Regions from separate parts of the Homo sapiens genome. Here region 1 is linked to region 2. Evidence: promoter capture Hi-C in 16 types of primary human blood cells and fetal thymus (Javierre and others, 2016). All regions are on one chromosome and are shown on one strand. The core of a region is centred on a gene start or on the middle of the fragment in contact, and the rest is flanking DNA. Distances in the headings are between cores, read along the strand shown. Region 1 holds the start of IL6 (interleukin 6). Region 2 holds the start of MALSU1 (mitochondrial assembly of ribosomal large subunit 1).

Region 1 (3,370 bases), core at 513-3,012, 570 kb before region 2:
TGTTGTATTGTGTCACTCAGTTCAAGTACTTGAAATTTATTGAATTGTATTTTCTAAAAAATAGATAGTTGAGTAAAAGCAAGCTCACATTACATAGACGGATCACAGTGCACGGCTGCGGAGCTGGGAGCAGTGGCTTCGTTTCATGCAGGAAAGAGAACTTGGTTCAGGAGTGTCTACGTTGCTTAAGACAGGAGAGCACTAAAAATGAAACCATCCAGCCATCCTCCCCCATTTTCATTTTCACACCAAAGAATCCCACCGCGGCAGAGGACCACCGTCTCTGTTTAGACAATCGGTGAAGAATGGATGACCTCACTTTCCCCAACAGGCGGGTCCTGAAATGTTATGCACGAAACAAAACTTGAGTAAATGCCCAACAGAGGTCACTGTTTTATCGATCTTGAAGAGATCTCTTCTTAGCAAAGCAAAGAAACCGATTGTGAAGGTAACACCATGTTTGGTAAATAAGTGTTTTGGTGTTGTGCAAGGGTCTGGTTTCAGCCTGAAGCCATCTCAGAGCTGTCTGGGTCTCTGGAGACTGGAGGGACAACCTAGTCTAGAGCCCATTTGCATGAGACCAAGGATCCTCCTGCAAGAGACACCATCCTGAGGGAAGAGGGCTTCTGAACCAGCTTGACCCAATAAGAAATTCTTGGGTGCCGACGCGGAAGCAGATTCAGAGCCTAGAGCCGTGCCTGCGTCCGTAGTTTCCTTCTAGCTTCTTTTGATTTCAAATCAAGACTTACAGGGAGAGGGAGCGATAAACACAAACTCTGCAAGATGCCACAAGGTCCTCCTTTGACATCCCCAACAAAGAGGTGAGTAGTATTCTCCCCCTTTCTGCCCTGAACCAAGTGGGCTTCAGTAATTTCAGGGCTCCAGGAGACCTGGGGCCCATGCAGGTGCCCCAGTGAAACAGTGGTGAAGAGACTCAGTGGCAATGGGGAGAGCACTGGCAGCACAAGGCAAACCTCTGGCACAGAGAGCAAAGTCCTCACTGGGAGGATTCCCAAGGGGTCACTTGGGAGAGGGCAGGGCAGCAGCCAACCTCCTCTAAGTGGGCTGAAGCAGGTGAAGAAAGTGGCAGAAGCCACGCGGTGGCAAAAAGGAGTCACACACTCCACCTGGAGACGCCTTGAAGTAACTGCACGAAATTTGAGGATGGCCAGGCAGTTCTACAACAGCCGCTCACAGGGAGAGCCAGAACACAGAAGAACTCAGATGACTGGTAGTATTACCTTCTTCATAATCCCAGGCTTGGGGGGCTGCGATGGAGTCAGAGGAAACTCAGTTCAGAACATCTTTGGTTTTTACAAATACAAATTAACTGGAACGCTAAATTCTAGCCTGTTAATCTGGTCACTGAAAAAAAATTTTTTTTTTTTCAAAAAACATAGCTTTAGCTTATTTTTTTTCTCTTTGTAAAACTTCGTGCATGACTTCAGCTTTACTCTTTGTCAAGACATGCCAAAGTGCTGAGTCACTAATAAAAGAAAAAAAGAAAGTAAAGGAAGAGTGGTTCTGCTTCTTAGCGCTAGCCTCAATGACGACCTAAGCTGCACTTTTCCCCCTAGTTGTGTCTTGCCATGCTAAAGGACGTCACATTGCACAATCTTAATAAGGTTTCCAATCAGCCCCACCCGCTCTGGCCCCACCCTCACCCTCCAACAAAGATTTATCAAATGTGGGATTTTCCCATGAGTCTCAATATTAGAGTCTCAACCCCCAATAAATATAGGACTGGAGATGTCTGAGGCTCATTCTGCCCTCGAGCCCACCGGGAACGAAAGAGAAGCTCTATCTCCCCTCCAGGAGCCCAGCTATGAACTCCTTCTCCACAAGTAAGTGCAGGAAATCCTTAGCCCTGGAACTGCCAGCGGCGGTCGAGCCCTGTGTGAGGGAGGGGTGTGTGGCCCAGGGAGGGCTGGCGGGCGGCCAGCAGCAGAGGCAGGCTCCCAGCTGTGCTGTCAGCTCACCCCTGCGCTCGCTCCCCTCCGGCACAGGCGCCTTCGGTCCAGTTGCCTTCTCCCTGGGGCTGCTCCTGGTGTTGCCTGCTGCCTTCCCTGCCCCAGTACCCCCAGGAGAAGATTCCAAAGATGTAGCCGCCCCACACAGACAGCCACTCACCTCTTCAGAACGAATTGACAAACAAATTCGGTACATCCTCGACGGCATCTCAGCCCTGAGAAAGGAGGTGGGTAGGCTTGGCGATGGGGTTGAAGGGCCCGGTGCGCATGCGTTCCCCTTGCCCCTGCGTGTGGCCGGGGGCTGCCTGCATTAGGAGGTCTTTGCTGGGTTCTAGAGCACTGTAGATTTGAGGCCAACGGGGCCGACTAGACTGACTTCTGTATTTATCCTTTGCTGGTGTCAGGAAGTTCCTTTCCTTTCTGGAAAATGCAGAATGGGTCTGAAATCCATGCCCACCTTTGGCATGAGCTGAGGGTTATTGCTTCTCAGGGCTTCCTTTTCCCTTTCCAAAAAATTAGGTCTGTGAAGCTCCTTTTTGTCCCCCGGGCTTTGGAAGGACTAGAAAAGTGCCACCTGAAAGGCATGTTCAGCTTCTCAGAGCAGTTGCAGTACTTTTTGGTTATGTAAACTCAATGGCTAGGATTCCTCAAAGCCATTCCAGCTAAGATTCATACCTCAGAGCCCACCAAAGTGGCAAATCATAAATAGGTTAAAGCATCTCCCCACTTTCAATGCAAGGTATTTTGGTCCTGTTTGGTAGAAAGAAAAGAACACAGGAGGGGAGATTGGGAGCCCACACTCGAATTCTGGTTCTGCCAAACCAGCCTTGTGATCTTGGGTAAATTCCCTACCACCTCTGGACTCCATCAGTAAAATTGGGCGTGGACTAGGTGATCTCATAGATCCTTCCTGCTGGAACATTCTATGGCTTGAATTATATTCTCCTAATTATTGTCAAAATTGCTGTTATTAAGTATCTACTGTGTGCCAGGCACTTTAAATAAATATTGTGTCTAATCTTCAAAACAAATTTGCAAGGAAGGTTTTTGGAGATAAGGAAACTGAGACTCAGGATTAAGTAACACACCTAAAGTCACAGGTGAGCTTGGAACTGAACCCAAGTGTGCCCCCACTCCACTGGAATTTGCTTGCCAGGATGCCAATGAGTTGTAGCTTCATTTTTCTTAGAGACTTTCCTGGCTGTGGTTGAACAATGAAAAGGCCCTCTAGTGGTGTTTGTTTTAGGGACACTTAGGTGATAACAATTCTGGTATTCTTTCCCAGACATGTAACAAGAGTAACATGTGTGAAAGCAGCAAAGAGGCACTGGCAGAAAACAACCTGAACCTTCCAAAGATGGCTGAAAAAGATGGATGCTTCCAATCTGGATTCAATGAGG
Region 2 (3,718 bases), core at 135-2,634:
TAGGAGGCAGTCTCTGTAATTAGGCAAGAACTAATGAGGGTGTGGACTAAGGAAGAAACAGTGGAAATGAAGACAAGAAGCTGAACTCACAGAAACATTTTGGAGGTCACATAAGCAGGATTTTGACAACAGATTCGTTTGTTGTATGAAGATCCTGGACTGAATGAAGTCTAGGGTTTGGGAGTTTTGAAGGGATAATGACCCATTAAATGAGCTGGCAAATACAGGTGGTAAAGCAGGTCTGGGATGTTCAGAGAAGGGTGGGAACACGGAATGGATGCCAGAAGCTGGGAGAAAAGCCAAGTTCATGCCTGTGGAAAAATGGAATTGAGGATGGGGCTAAAATTGGACAGAGGAAACTTAATCTGTAATGTTTTTCTTCTTTTCAAAAATAACTTGAAGTGGTTGTACATATCTGGTGTGATATACACAAATGCTTAATTTCTCTATTTTTAAAAAACTTCCCAAAATTAGTGCTTGGAATTATTTAAAATAATGTAGCAAACATTTTTGGAGTGCCTGCTATGTGTCTGGCACTGTTTCAGGCATTTGAAATATTTGCTCTCTATGAAGCCTTCCTTTCAGCAGTTAGCAGGCCTGGAGTTCAGAAGCCAGAAACTGGCTTCTGATTCTGACGCAGTCAGTAAGTGTATGACCTGGGCAAGTTGCTTCCCTGCGGCGTCCCACGCCCCCAAAACCCCCCACCCCCCCACCCGTGCCAGGAATCTATCGCAGTTCTCAAGTCCTGTGACTTAATACCGCAGCTGGCACCTCAGAATTCCTTATTCTTACAGAGCTGGTCCCCACAGTACCGCCCCTGGGCGTAAACTCCTCCATACAGGGAGTGTAGATGATGGGCTGACCTAAGAACGGTTTCCAAATGGTCCTTTACACCTCTGCCTCCCACCCCACTCTAGCCCAGGATAACAGATTTTCCTCGCGCAATTTCAAATTTGCAAGGGAATCTTGAATATTTTCTGGTAATGAGAGAGGGTAGATTATATGTCCTAATCCCAGCCTAATCAGATTAACAGCAACTTCTGGACATTCAGTACCAGGAACTGTTTTAGGTGCTGTGGAGAGAAGAGTTAAAAATGAAACAAAAATTATTGCCTTCATGAGCCTCACATTAGTGGACAGAGTCCAAAAAAAAAGTGACAACGTAATGCGCTACTGCGACACAAAGCAAAGCAAGGTGGGCAAGCAACACTAGTTCTTTATTCCCGCACGCCCTAATCCCCAAGTAGCTCTTCCGGGTCACTGCAGTCTTCACGGGCTCCAGACTCCGCCCATGGTCCGTCCTTCAGGCCTTGACTCCGCCCACGCATCGACGTAGAATTTCCCGGCCGGGCTCCATGAAGTACCACCCACCCGCGACGCCGACGCAAGGCTGCTGCTATGGGGCCGGGCGGCCGTGTGGCGCGGCTGCTCGCCCCACTAATGTGGCGCAGGGCGGTTTCCTCGGTGGCGGGGTCCGCGGTTGGAGCCGAGCCCGGGCTTCGGCTGCTGGCCGTGCAGCGGCTTCCCGTAGGAGCAGCGTTCTGCCGGGCTTGCCAGACCCCAAACTTTGTCCGCGGCCTGCACAGCGAGCCTGGGCTGGAGGAGCGGGCGGAGGGGACGGTCAACGAGGGACGCCCAGAATCGGACGCGGCAGGTACGGGCGTGGAGAAGAACGAAGGCGACCCTCTCCGGGCAGTCTGGAGTCAGGTCCCAGCCAAGGTGGCTCTGGGTTCCCCTCTATGTGCATTTCTCTTGGAGTCACAAAACTCCTGCACATCCAGAGCTGGAAGGGACTTCAAAGGTTGTTGGCGCCAACCTTCCCGTTTCACAGTGAAGAAATTGAGGGCAAGAGATGAACTGCAGAATCCCAGCCTCCCGGACGGCCATCTCCCACCCTTGGCATCACAGTCTCACCGTCCTCACTTCCTTTTACCCTCTTCCTAGGATCCTGGGAAATGGGTTTGTGGGGACTGTTGGGGCTTGAGGATTCTGAGGAGCCAGGGTCTGGGTGCGAAGGGGTGCGTAGGAAGCGCCAGTAGGAGATGGGTCCAAGTTAATATCCTCTAGTTATTGCTGACGTTTTTAGAAACTTAAGAATGGTAAACAGATCACATCTAAGAATGTAGAGTATGAGAGGGAGAGGCCTTAGTGGGCTTAGCTACTAGGTCCTTTGGAGTCGGCTTTAGAACTTGGGCGAGCTTTTAAATTTACAGCCTGTAATACTCCAAGCTGAAGATCAGAATATCTAAATCTTTACGGGAAAAAAAATTAGATTTTCATAGGTAACAGTTGTTAATAACCCGGTGGTTTTATATGAAAACTGGAAGGTTCAAAATAATAATTACTCAAAAATGTAGCTCTTTCAGTGACTGATCTTAGGCCACAGTAATTCTCCTAGGCCTCAGTTTCTTCATCTCTCAACTGAAGGTTGTGGACCAGATACTGCCTAAGAGCCCTTCCAGCTCACAATTCTGTGACCCGTTATGACTGAGATTCAATTTAATATGCTCCAGGATATCACCTCCTACCCATTTTGTGGTGCTGTTTTTCTTTGCACAGCATTTCTGTGATTGTGGTGTATTGCTCCTTTTAAGTATTAGTAGAAAGTCATTTGTCACTGGTGTCTGGTTCTACTTGCATATGGTTAATAGCGAAGGATGTATAGTGGCTCTGCGTAATCTGAGCACCCTGACCATAAAAGTTGAGCGGTGCTATGATACTACTGCCCAGGTTCACCTTCCAGGAGGCCTTTACCCTGCTATCTGTAAAAACACTTTGGATCTAAACACCCTCATGGAGGAACAGTCAGCTGCCGGCATCTCTGGGTGCATACACGTCTATCTGCTTGGCCATCCTGATACAAACAACTATTTGTGCATTTCAGATCATACTGGTCCCAAGTTTGACATCGATATGATGGTTTCACTTCTGAGGCAAGAAAATGCAAGAGACATTTGTGTGATCCAGGTTCCTCCAGAAATGAGATATACAGATTACTTTGTGATTGTTAGTGGAACTTCTACCCGACACTTACATGCCATGGCCTTCTACGTTGTGAAAATGGTAGGATGCTTTCTTTTCTCTTTTGGACCATTAACTGAGTGGAATAGTGACAGTGCATCAGGCCAAGGAGCAACACTTAGAGGGTAAACCCATCATACAAAGTTACAGAAGAAGCCCAAATTTTCAGAATTTGCATGAATTCATTTTATGTTCTTTGATAGTGAAACATATGGGAGCAAATATCCAGCCCTATTGAGTTAGGATATATCAAAATCTTTTCTCTTGTGACCGCAAGGAAGATTTTTTTTTTTTTTCTAATTGAGATGGAGTTTTGCTCTTGTTGCCCAGGCTGGAGTGCAATGGCGCGATCTCTGCTCACCGCAACCTCCGCCTCCCGGGTTTAAGTGATTCTCCTGCCTCATCCTCCTGAGTAGCTGGGATTACAGGCATGCGCCACCAGGCCCAGATAATTTTGTATTTTTAGTAGAGACGGGTTTCTCCATGTTGGTCAGGCTGGTCTCAAACTCCTGACCTCAGGGGATCCGCCTGCCTCAGCCTCCTAAAGTGCTAGGATTACTGGCATGAGCCACCTCACCCGGCCGGAAAATAATATTTTATAACCTGAGGCAAGCTAGAAGACAGTATAACCAGAGGGATTTCTAGAGGCACTATCCATTACGGTAGCCACTAGCTACATGTGCCTATTTAATTATAA

Evidence for each region. Contacts are between HindIII fragments. The CHiCAGO score rates a contact against its expected background, and 5 or more counts as called.
Region 1: the fragment with the promoter of IL6 here is called in contact with the fragment with the promoter of MALSU1 in region 2 in 3 of 17 cell types (neutrophils, M1 macrophages and M2 macrophages); the score reaches 5.5 in neutrophils.

Annotation. Positions count from the first base shown.
Region 1 is chr7:22,725,438-22,728,807 of GRCh38, forward strand. It overlaps IL6 (interleukin 6), which reads left to right and starts at 1,763. Exons shown (of 5, transcript NM_000600.5): 1 at 1,763-1,844; 2 at 2,007-2,197; 3 at 3,256-3,369. The coding sequence starts at 1,826. It overlaps IL6-AS1 (IL6 antisense RNA 1), which reads right to left and starts at 2,183. Exons shown (of 2, transcript NR_131935.1): 1 at 2,131-2,183; 2 at 1-1,268. RefSeq lists a silencer at 1,178-1,227 and an enhancer at 1,213-2,412. The HindIII fragment of the contact is 10,105 bases long and covers 1-3,370 here.
Region 2 is chr7:23,297,955-23,301,672 of GRCh38, forward strand. MALSU1 (mitochondrial assembly of ribosomal large subunit 1) reads left to right here and starts at 1,385. Exons shown (of 4, transcript NM_138446.2): 1 at 1,385-1,654; 2 at 2,885-3,063. The coding sequence starts at 1,399. RefSeq lists an enhancer at 1,202-1,691. The HindIII fragment of the contact is 9,022 bases long and covers 1-3,718 here.